Linked DNA regions of Homo sapiens: all the other regions are linked to region 2. The links are contacts of gene promoters, found by promoter capture Hi-C in blood cells and fetal thymus (Javierre and others, 2016). All regions are on one chromosome and are shown on one strand. Each heading gives the region's core, a stretch centred on a gene start or on the middle of the fragment in contact. The rest is flanking DNA. Distances are from core to core; before and after follow the strand shown. Region 1 overlaps CLYBL-AS3 (CLYBL antisense RNA 3). Region 2 holds the start of PCCA-AS1 (PCCA antisense RNA 1). Region 3 overlaps CLYBL (citramalyl-CoA lyase). Region 4 overlaps ZIC5 (Zic family zinc finger 5).

Region 1 (2,764 bases), core at 118-2,617, 560 kb after region 2:
GTTAGCATCAGTGGGGGCAAGCATTAAGATGATCCCGTCAGGATTTAAGTTTATGAATGATTTCTCATGGTGTGGGACCCTAGCTGAACATGGGCCATGAAAGAGAATGCTCGTTTCATATCCTGAATTGGCCCCTTCCTGGCTTTGGGACCTTGGGCAAATTACTGAGTCTCCAAGCCTCGGGTTTTTCATCTGTAAAATGGGATGATGGTAACAATAAGAACTAGTTTGTTGGATTGTTGTGAGAATTAAATGAGGTTCAGTACTGTGCCTAACCCATAATAAGCACTGAACACATGTCTAGGGCATTATCGGAGGATGAAGATGGAAATTGTGTTTGAGTGTCTCATAAGGTCTACTCCTGGGCTTTAGGGGCTGGAGTTGGAGCACGAGCACAGGCCACAGAGGCAGAAGCCCAGGCCACTGCGAGGTCTGTGGGGAAGGCTGAGGTTTCAACCCTCCAGAGATGGGCAACAGCCCCAGCTGGGATGGCCAGAATCATGGGGCAGAGAGGCCCACTCCATGCTAGAGGCAGGCAGGGCACCTGGAGGGCTGTGGGTGGGGTGTCAGGCCCCAGATGATTGCTCTGGGAGGGCACATGGACAGTCAAATTGGGTTTAGGGCTGCAAAGAAGGGGTATTGATGTTTAAAAATTTTTTTTACAGTGATAAAATATTTGCAACAGGCCAGGCATGGTGGTTTACACCTGTAACCCTAGCATTTTGAGAGACTGAGGTGGGAGGATCGCTTGAGTCCAGGAGTTCGAGATCAGCCTGGGCAACATAGTGAGACCTTATCTCTAAAATAAATAAAAAAAATTAGCCAAGCATGGTGGTGCATGCCTGTGGTCTCAGCTACTTGGGAGGCCGAGGTGGGAGGATCACCTGAGCCCAGGAGGTCAAGGCTGCAGTGAGCCACTCAAAAAAAAAAAAAAAAAAAAAGAAAAAAAAAAAGCATAACATAAAAATCACCAGTTTAGAACAGGTGTGGTGGCTCATACCTGTAATCCCAGCACTTTGGGAGGCCGAAGCAGGTGACTTGCTTGACTCCAGGAGTTTGAGACCAGCCTGAGCAACATAGTGAAATGCCATCTCTATAAAAAAATAGAAAAATTAGCCAGGCATGATAGTGTGTACCTGTAGTCCTAGCTACTTTGGAGGCTGAGGCAGGAGGATCACCTGAGCCTGGAAGTTGAGGCTGCAGTGAGCTGAGATCATACCACTGCAGTTCAGCCTGGGCGACAAAGTGAGACTGTTTCAAAACAAACCAACCAACCCCAAACAAAACCCAGTTTAACCATTTTTAAGAGTACAGTTCATTGCCATTGCGTACATTCACACTGTTGAGCAACCATCCTCACTATCTGTTTCCAGAAGTTTTTTATGATCCCAAACTGAAGCTCTGTTCCCTTTAAACAACAACTGCCATTCATTCTTCCTCCAGCTCCTGGCAGCCACGATCTTACTTTCTGTCTCTATGAATCTGCCTACTATAGTTACCTCATATAACTCGAATCATACAGTCTCTGTCCTTTTGTGCCTGGCTTGCTTCCCATAGCATCATGTCTTCAATCAAGGCTCATCTGTGTTGTAGTGTGCATCAGAACTTCCTTCCTTTTTAAGGCTGTATAATATTCCATTGTATGTGTATACCACATTTTGTTTCTCCATCCATCAATAGACACCTGGGTTGCTTCTACCTTTTGGCTACTGTGAATAATGTTGCTATGAACGTGGGTGTACAGATATCTGTTTGAGTCCCTGCTTTCGGTTATTTTGAGTATATTCTCAGAGGTAGAATTGCTAGATTATATGGTAATTCTATGTTTAATTTTTTGAGGAGCTGCCATACTATTCTCCAAAGCAGCTGCAGCTTTTTTTTTTTTTTTTTTTTTTTGAGACACGGGTCTTGTTATGTTGCCTGGGCTGGTCTTGAACTCCTGGCTTCAAGTGATCCTCCCACCCTGGCCTCCTAAAGTGCTGGGAATACAGGCATGAGCCACTGTGTGCCTAGCTGCACCATTTTACATTCTGGCCAGTAGTGCACAAAGGTTCCAATTTCTCCACATCCTTGCCAACACTTATTTTTCATTTTTCTGAAAATAGCCACCCGAATGGGTGCGAAGTGGTAACTTATTGAGGGAGGCTGGCTGTAAGGGCATCATTAAAGAGTCCATCTCTAAACAAAAGACACCAGTCTGAATAATTGTCCCTCTGTTAAGGAACTCATACTTCGAGTGTGTAGGACCAAGTGGTCGCTCGCTAGATTCTTCACTCTGTTGGGTGGGCCCTATTTGAAGACAGGTGGTAACCTTGGCAATGGGATTGCATGGGCACCAAAATGTCCATCTGGCCCCAAAGGTGGTCGTTCCCAGGTTGGCATGTTGCCTGACATCCTCAGCAGGAAGATTACCTGTTAACACGGAAACAAGTTACCTGGGAGGAGAGACACGACACATGAGTGTGAGCACAGTGGCTGCTGCCGCCTGGCACGGAGCCTGGGACGGCGGTACAGGGCGTGCATATTTGGGAAAGGCGGGGAGATCGGAAGCTGCAGACCTTGCTCTGGCAGCAGAGACCAGGCAGGCCGGGGCAGAAGGGAAGGCCCCAGACGGCCTGGGTATGGGTTGTTCAGGACCAACACCTGTGTGCCTGAAGCACCAGCTGCAACAGGGGGAAACATCCCCCACTCCCTCTCCGATCCCCATGTGGCTTCCCCATACCTTTGCACGACTTCCACTCACTCCAGTGACATCTTCAGCATT
Region 2 (2,700 bases), core at 42-2,541:
TCTCTCTCGACTCTGCATCCCTCCTGGCTACTGCCTTCTGACCTGACCCATGTTCTCCACACAGTCCTCTGCTCTAGCTGCTGCAACCACACTTGCACTCACGACCAAACCAGCCCTACGTGGCTATCGCCACCACTGTTCTTCCTAACTGACAAGCTGTCTCAGGTACCCACAGGTTAGATATTTCAGGGGAAATGACTGTTACAGAAATGTTCATGTTAGAATGAAGAAACAGATCAATACACATCAATCATATTAAAAAGGTGCTTCTAAGACAAAGCATATATTATTTTTATTATTCATATTCAATATTTTAGGAATTAAAGCAACGATGTTTCTGCAAATTTATGGTTTTGAATTGATGGTACGTTGTAATAATGCATAGATAGGGTCTGCCTGAGCTTTCACCCCAGGAACTGTAAACTTTATATTACAGTAGTCCCCCCTTATCCAAGGTTTTAGCTTTCCAAGGTTTCATTTACCTGTGGTCAACCATGGTCCAGAAACATTATATGGAAAATTCCAGAAATAAACAATGTATAAGTTTTAAATTGTGAGTCATTCTGAGTAGTGTGAGGAGATCTTGTGCTGTCCTGCTCCATCCTGCCTGGGTCATAAACCCTCTCTCTCGGGGTCCAGCATCTCCACGCTGTAGACACCCCCACCACCAACCAGTCACTTAGTGGCCATCTCAGTTACCAGATCTACTGTCAGGGGGTCTCAGTGCTTAGGTTCCTTTTTTATTTTTGAGACAGAGGCTGGCTCTGTCGCCCAGGCTGGAGTGCAGTGGCATGATCTTGGCTCGCTGTAACCTCCACCTCCTGGGCTTAAGCCATGCTCCCACCTCAGCCTGCCGAGTAGCTGGGACTACAGGTATGTGCCACCGTGACCGGTGAATTTTTGTGTTTTTTGTAGAGGCAGAGTTTTGCCATGTTGCCCAGGCTAGTCTCAAACTCCCGAGCTCAAGTGATCCACCTGCCTTGGACTCCCAAAATGCTGGGATTACAGGTGTGAGCCACTGTGCCTGGCAGGAACTATTATTTGACTTCACAATGGCCTCAAAGTTCCAAGAGTATGATGCTGGCAATCTGGATATGCCAAAAACCAGCCATGAAGTCCTTCCTTTAGTTAAAAGGTGAAAGTTCTCAAGAAAAAAAAAAGTATGCTGAGATTGCTAAGATCTACAGTAAGAATCAATCTTCTATCCATGAAATTGTGAAAAAGGACAAAGAAATTTGTGCTAGTTTTGCTGCTGTACCTAAAACTACAAAAGTTACAGCCACAGTGTGGGCTAAGTGCCGAGCTGAAATGGAAAAGGCATTAAAGGCAAGCGTATACAGGGTTCGGTCCCATCCGCAGTCTTAGGCATCCCCTGGGGATTTTGACATGGATCCCCCGTGGAGAAGGGGGGCTACTGTACAGTACACTTCCCTTCAGCAAGCCGCATATTCAAGTTCTCTATTTCAGATTCCCCTTCGTGACTGTCATGCAGGAAGCAAAGAAAACCCATTGTGTCCAAGGAAATTTTTACTTTCTCTAGGGATTCAGAAACCTGACTTTCTGATACTCAGAAACTCAGTGCGCATGGGTGAGAAGGCTCGGTAGGGAAGAGGTGCTTTGTAGCTCAGGATCTGCTGGAGCTGAGGGCGTTTTTTGGTTTAATCTAGTTTCACTGTGTGTTTCATGGAGAGGTTCCTCTAGGAACAAAAGGTTCTATGGAAGTCACGTCCTTTATCCCTCTTAGCCATCCCTGTGTCTGCCTTAGCCAACCTCCCATTTGTAAAAAGAAAGCAGAGACCAGGCTATGGCTGAATAGTTTCAGACAGCCCCTATACCACTGTCAGCCTTTGCAAAGTGTAATGCTTTAATTACAAGGGTCACACAAGGTCTTAAGACACAGGAGTCCCTGTGTCTGAACGTAATCACTGTGTATGCGTCTCAGCCTAATGAGGAGGTGACTATCATGAAGGTCTGGTGGTGAAGATCTTGCAAGAAGGTGCCTTGTTTGAGATCTTTCAAGGAAACACAGTACTCAATAAATGTGGGTGAGTAGAAATTACAATTTAGTTGGGTTAATTTTTGGTAGTAATATGGAGCTTTGCAAAGAGAAAGGCATTTGCTGAAGACACTGGTAAAATATGTGCTGAAGCTCTGCCTCATCTAGTCTGGTTCAAAAGTCAAATATCAAAGAGTCAAGAGACCCTCCTATTCAGAAGAAAGCCCTGACTTGTTAATTTATTAGAAGCAAGAGTAAATGCTCCATAGGTTTTTCATTAAATAAAATTAGATCTAGTCCCAGGGCTTTTCTGTAATGGGTGCTCCTGAGTCAGGAATCAAGACCCATGAAGTAAGAAAAGAACAGGTAGGCAAGGGGGTACCTTCTCCTCTAACAAAAGTGGCCTATCAGATGGTCAGGGAGTCTCTATCAGTGGAGCCAAACCAGCTCCACTGACACAGTTAAAGACCCTTGCCATCAAGTGCAAAGGGAAGCAGTAGGACTTAGAGTAGGCCATTTCCTACTAAAAATGGAATCATTTTTCAGTTCGGTGTACAGTTGAGCCTTGAGCAACATGGATTTGAACTGCATGGGGCCACTTAAATGTGCATTTTCTTATGACTCCGCTGCTCTTGAGACAGCAAGATCAAGCCCCCTCCTCCTCAGCCAACTCAACGTGAAGACAATGAAGATCAAGATCTTTA
Region 3 (2,830 bases), core at 241-2,740, 770 kb after region 2:
ATGTACTCACACCTGTAATCCTAGCATTTTAGGAAGCTGAAAGCAAATTGCTTGAGCCCAGGAGTTTGAGACCAACCTGGGCACATAGCGAAACCCTGTCTCTACAAAAAAATATATTTAAAAATTAGCCAGGTATACTGTCTTGTGCCTGTAGTCCCAGCTACTTGGGAGGCTGAGGCAGGAGGATCATTTGAGCCCAGGAGGTTGAGGCTGCAATGAGCCATGATTGCACCACTGCACTCCAGCCTGGGCAACAGAGCAAGACCCTTTCTCAATCAATCAATCAATCAGAAACATTAGAGAACATGAAAAAGCTATCAAAAATAAAAATTTGAGGCCAGACATGGTGGCTCATGCCTGTAATCCCAGCACTTTGGAAGGCCAAGGAGGGCGGATCACCTGAGGCCAGGAGTTCAAGATCAGCCCAGCTAACATGGTGAAACCCCGTCTCTACTAGAAATACAAAAATTAGCCAGGCATGGTGGCAGATGCCTGTAATCCCAGCTACTCAGGAGGCTGAGGCAGGAGAATCACCTGGACCTGGGAGGCGGAGGTTGCAGTGAGCCAAGATCACACCACTGCACTCCAGCCTGGGCGACAGACCAAGACTCTGTCTTAAAAAAAAAAAAAAAAAAAAAAAGAAATAGAGAAATACAAAGAAAGCTCCTAGAACTAAAACACATAAATTTTCAGACTGAAAGGCCTATGGAACACCTACATAATTAACAAAAATGATCCCATCAAAGTACATCAATGCAAAGTTTGAGAGGACTAGGGAGAAAGAGATCTTCAAGAGAGATCTTCAAGAAAGAGATTTTCAAGAGAGAAAAAAATTTACAGAAAAAGGATCAAGAATCAAAATGGCACCATTTTAAAGCAATGGCAGCATTAGAAGCAAAAAAGGGAGCAATGCCTTTAACATTCTTAGGGAAAATGTTTTCCATGAAGTCTGAAGAACACCAAAGACCTCTTCAGACATATAGCCTCAAAAACATTTAACTTTCACGAACCCTCTTTTCACATAACTACTAGAAGACACACAGCCCTGAATGAGGAAATAAGCCAAGAAAGAAGACATGGTTTCCAGATACTGGAAATACAGAGTACAAACAGAGCAAACGCCAGGATTATGGTGTTTTATAAACAATGGAAGTTTTAGAAACACAGAAATGCAGCTGGCCTAGAAAGCGACAAGTTCAGGATAGAAGACTCCAGAAGGAATTCCTTTAAAAACAAAATCAAAAGTAGTAAGGGTATATTGCTTAATATTGACGACTTTGTCAAAGAGTTGGAAGAAAAAATTAGTTTTAGCAAAAGAGTCAATCACTGGCCAGGTGTGGTAGCTCACACTTGTAATCCCAGCACTTTTGGAGGCCAAGGCAGGGAGATTCTTGAGCTCCAGACTTGGAGACCAACCTGGGCAATGTGGCAAAACTCTGTCTCTACCAAAAAAAAAACTCAAAAAAACAAAAATTAGCTGGGTATGGTGGCACGCACCTGTATTCCCAGCTACTTGGGAGGCTGAGGCGGGAGGATCGCTTGAGCCCAGGAGGCAGAGGTCACAGTGAACCGAGATCACGCCACTGCATTCTAGCCTGCGCTATAGAGCGAGACCCTGTCTCAAAAAAAAAAAAAAAAAAAAAGTCAATTGCTAACTCCAAGGGGACAAAAAGTTATATGAGAAAGGAAAATTGTAGTGTACCGTATGGCTCAGCTGTGAACACTGCTTTCCTTGGCACAGTATAAACACTGAAGTGTGTATCAGGGGTATAATACGACAAAAGAGAACTGTCTTCAACTTCCATAGCAGAAAGTTAATGGTACTATAGACAGAATGTTTCTGTCCCCTGCAAAGTATGTTGAAGTCTTCATTCCCAGTGTGATCAAATGTGGAGGTGAGGCCTTTGGTTGGTGATTAGTCACGAGGACTGAGCTCTCATAAATGAAATCAGCACCTTTATAAAAGACAGACTCCCTCACGCCTGTAATCCCAGCACTTTGGGAGGCCAAGGCGGGTGGATCACGAGGTCAGGAGTTCTAGACCAGCCTGGCCAAGATGGTGAAATCCTGTCTCTACTAAAAATACAAAAAATTAGCCGGGCGTGATGGTGGGCGCCTGTAATCCCAGCTACTCTGGAGGCTGAGGCAGGAGAATCGCTTGAACCCAGGAGGTGAAGGTTGCCGTGAGCCAAGATGGCACCACTGGACTCCAGCCTGGTGACACAGCAAGACTCTGTCTCAAAAATATTAAAAAATAAAAAATAAAAAAAGCTGCGTGCGGTGGCTCACGCCTGTAATCCCAGCACTTTGGGAGGCTGAGGTGGGCAGATCACCTGAGGTCGGGAGTTCAAGACCAGCCTGACCAACATGGAGAAACGCCATCTCTACTAAAAATACAAAATTAGCCGGGCGTGGTGGTGCATGCCTGTAATCCCAGCTACTTGGGAGGCTGAGGCAGGAGAATCGCTTGAACCCGGGAAGTGGAGGTTGCGTGCCGAGATTGCGCCATTGCACTCTAGCCTGGGCAACGAGAGCGAAACTCCGTCTCAAAAAAAAAAAAAAAAAAAAAAAGACGGACTCCCTCACCCCTTCTGTCATATGAGGACGCAGTGAGAAGGTGTGCGTCTGTGGACCGGGAGGCGCAGGTGCTTCCTTAGCACCAGACACTGAACCTGCCACTGCCTGATCTTGGACCTCCAAGTCTCCAGAAGTGTGGGAAATAAATTTCTGTTGCTTATAAGACACCCAGTTTATGGTATTTTGTTATAGCAGCCTAAATGGACTAAGACAAATAGATAACTGTGAGCAGTGGCTCACACCTGTAATCCTG
Region 4 (2,925 bases), core at 163-2,662, 520 kb after region 2:
TTTTAAAAAAAGATGCAGCAACCTTAATATATCTCCATATCTTGTGCTACTGTGATTGTTCAAGCAAAAGTGGAGAGAAGAAAAGCTGCTGCAAAAGACAACTGTGAAACTGTGATATTTTATAAAATAGAAGAAATTCAAGTGCTTTCTTTTTCCTATATGTTTTTTTTTTTTTATCTGAATTCTCAGATACTGCCTCCTAACTGTGTCCAAACTTCTTGTGTAATAAAGAGATTCTGTTTTCGATCCTAAGTTCTTTGGGATGCCAACATTCACAGTCAAGTCTTGAGGAGGTGTGATGATGGCATCATGCCTATTTTTTTGGAAAGCTGTTGTTTTTAAAACAGGCCAACACCTCTTTTATACTGTTGTATCAGCCTTTTAAAAAGTCTATTTTTCAATGCCTGAAACTGCATTTTAATGCATTTTCTTCCACCTGAGCACTGAGCACACCAAACTGGAATCCATTTGAAAATGACAGTGTGTGAAGTGTATGATTTACATTAAAAGAGGGGAGGGAGTTGCCATACATATTAAAAATTTTTAAAAGGTTTATAGTTACCACCAAACACTGATGAATGTGTGACCTTTGCCAGAGCTGTCAAGCTAGGATAAAAAAGGTCAAGGACCTAGGACAATAACTCTTAGTCGATTTATTTTCGGTTGGTACAACACATCTCCTGTGCAAAATGTAGTCCATCAGAAACATCCTACAGATACACTAAAGAGCACTAATTTATCCTTAGAGACCCCGAAGACACCCCCTCCCCAGGGTTTGTAGAAATTTGTTTTGTGTGCTGTGAGTGGTTGATGTAGTCTTGTCATTGTTAATAACTTGTATGTGAACACTATTATTTGTACAGTTGAATTAATTTATTTTCAGACATCATCCTTTTTTTTTTTCTTTCCTGGAAGAGTTCAAAGCACACCAAAGAATTATATTATACATTTTGGTGAAAGATTGTCATTTATGATCCATGGTTTATTTAAAAAAAAAAGGAAAGAAAATGGAAAAATATATTTTTAAGCTTACTTGAATGAACAACGTAATGTGAAAACCAAGACTCTTCCTGCATGTCTTTTTTGCATTGTGTTGATAAGATTATATATAGTTTATAGATATATTATATTACTAGTACAGTGCATGGTGCTGTCACTTGGAAAGCCTTTCAATGTTGTCTTCAGATTGTTGTGATGAATATGAAACATGCAGACCCTCCTTTATAAAGAAAAAGACCTTAAAACTTGAATATGAGATAATTTTACATTTTAAAAGTTTATTTGATTTTCATATTATTCACTTTCAAAGCCCTTTCAAATAGAAAAGGTATGAACTTTTGGGGGGATAATTTATGTATCGTAAACTTATTAGAACAAAATATTCCTGATGTATAATGAGTTGTTTTATTTATACAACTTTTTCAATGGTAGTTTGCACTATTCTTTATTATGCTACAGGTTTATTTATTATGAAACAAAGGAATATGTATTTTATGTATTTTACCATGCATAGGTTAACTCTTTGCCACAGATTTATTGGTTCTTGATACACCTAAAATAAAAAAAAATGTGTACCTCCAATAGAGAGCAAGCAAGAATGATTATGAAGTAACAAATTTAATAAAGGTATTCTTGTTATTATTGCTTATGTTTTACATAATGGCATATCTCTCATACAAATAGAACAGGTTGCTAATGGAGTGAATGTCTTCCCTTGGTCTCTTGATTTCTCAGCCTCTCCCCAAGCAATACAATATTTTTGCAGCCTGGTTTAACTTAACAACTTACAAGCTTATCTAGGAAACACAGATATTTATGAAGACTAAGCCTTGCAGGTTATACTTACAGTAGCATAAATCTTTTGGGTTACTGCATTTATTTGTTAAAATAAGTAATATCCTGATTGATTCTAATCAGTGAAAAGCCAAAAAGTGAATTTTAGCATTTCTTTGGTGCCCAGCCTCCAAAAGGAAAAAAAAGAATAAAGAAAATGTGGAGGAAGGGACGGTGAGGCTTCTAGACAAAAAGAAGGTGAAAGCAAAATCAGTCAGGGGCTGAGATAGGTATTGAATGAAATTGAGTAGTGGGCATCAAATGCCTCTTATGGCGTGGGAGATCAAGATGCAATTTTACTGTAGTTTGTTCTGGAAGTTGAGTGGCTATTGGTAATTTAAGCTCAGCATTTTGGGCCAGGTGTGTTGAACAATTAGATTCTTGCATGGCAGCAAAATATTCAAGTGGCTTAAATGCAGGTGTTTGGCTATGCACATTTACAAGGCTGGATGTTTGCTTGTGTTTTTGTTAGCAGATACAAAACTGATAAAAGTCAGATAGTTAAAAGCAACTGCTAGTAATGTCAATAAGCATTTCTCTGAAAGGTTATAGTGGCTTTTAAAAGTCAGGTTTGTTAAATGTAGTAAAGGTGAAACAGGTTGCAAAGAGTTGTTTTAACTCAGATGACAATAACCAGCACACGAAGGAGAAAAACACTCATAAATGAGGGCCCCAATCAATGGGAAAACTTATAGCTCTCTAATGAAGTTTCTTGTGAAAAGAAGGGTGACACAAAGCCACCAAGACATGAATCATTCATGGGAAATATAAAAGATAAAAGATATCTGACAATGAGCAGAACCTTGTATAGAGTGTATAAAACAAGTTTCCCCTTCTTATTTTCTGCTTTAAAACGCACAATCTCCCACTCCCAGCATTCTCTGTCCAGTCTATAGAGTTAAAATTGACCACTGCTCGTACTGCGCCACTTCAAAGTAATTTAGTCCAGAACGGAAGGCTTGGCGCTCGGACAATCTTCATGGTGTGTTAAGATTTCTATGGCAATTGGCAAGCAAGACGTTCCCATCTGAATATGTCTCAAAGAAAGCCACTTATTGACACTAAGTTGGCTATCATCAAAGACTTCATCTT

Evidence for each region. Contacts are between HindIII fragments. The CHiCAGO score rates a contact against its expected background, and 5 or more counts as called.
Region 1: a contact is called between a fragment that was not itself captured here and the fragment with the promoter of PCCA-AS1 in region 2, in 6 of 17 cell types (monocytes, activated CD4 T cells, naive CD4 T cells and 3 more). The highest score is 6.2, in monocytes.
Region 3: a contact is called between a fragment that was not itself captured here and the fragment with the promoter of PCCA-AS1 in region 2, in 1 of 17 cell types (non-activated CD4 T cells). The highest score is 5.0, in non-activated CD4 T cells.
Region 4: a contact is called between a fragment that was not itself captured here and the fragment with the promoter of PCCA-AS1 in region 2, in 2 of 17 cell types (erythroblasts and M2 macrophages). The highest score is 6.3, in erythroblasts.

Annotation. Positions count from the first base shown.
Region 1 is chr13:99,922,948-99,925,711 of GRCh38, reverse strand. The region is part of intron 1 of CLYBL-AS3 (CLYBL antisense RNA 3); the gene reads left to right. Among named protein-coding and RNA genes, the nearest start is that of CLYBL-AS3, 33 kb to the left of the region's middle. The HindIII fragment of the contact is 3,259 bases long and covers 1-2,764 here.
Region 2 is chr13:100,479,606-100,482,305 of GRCh38, reverse strand. It overlaps PCCA-AS1 (PCCA antisense RNA 1), which reads left to right and starts at 1,291. Exons shown (of 5, transcript NR_047686.1): 1 at 1,291-1,326. The region is part of intron 21 of PCCA (propionyl-CoA carboxylase subunit alpha); the gene reads right to left. It overlaps LOC107984574 (a long non-coding RNA gene), which reads left to right and starts at 1,099. Exons shown (of 3, transcript XR_007063850.1): 1 at 1,099-1,186; 2 at 1,876-2,045; 3 at 2,543-2,700. The HindIII fragment of the contact is 6,979 bases long and covers 1-2,700 here.
Region 3 is chr13:99,711,145-99,713,974 of GRCh38, reverse strand. The region is part of intron 1 of CLYBL (citramalyl-CoA lyase); the gene reads right to left. Among named protein-coding and RNA genes, the nearest start is that of CLYBL-AS1, 16 kb to the left of the region's middle. The HindIII fragment of the contact is 5,637 bases long and covers 1-2,830 here.
Region 4 is chr13:99,961,739-99,964,663 of GRCh38, reverse strand. It overlaps ZIC5 (Zic family zinc finger 5), which reads left to right. Exons shown (of 2, transcript NM_033132.5): 2 at 1-1,700. Among named protein-coding and RNA genes, the nearest start is that of CLYBL-AS3, 6.0 kb to the right of the region's middle. The HindIII fragment of the contact is 763 bases long and covers 1,031-1,793 here.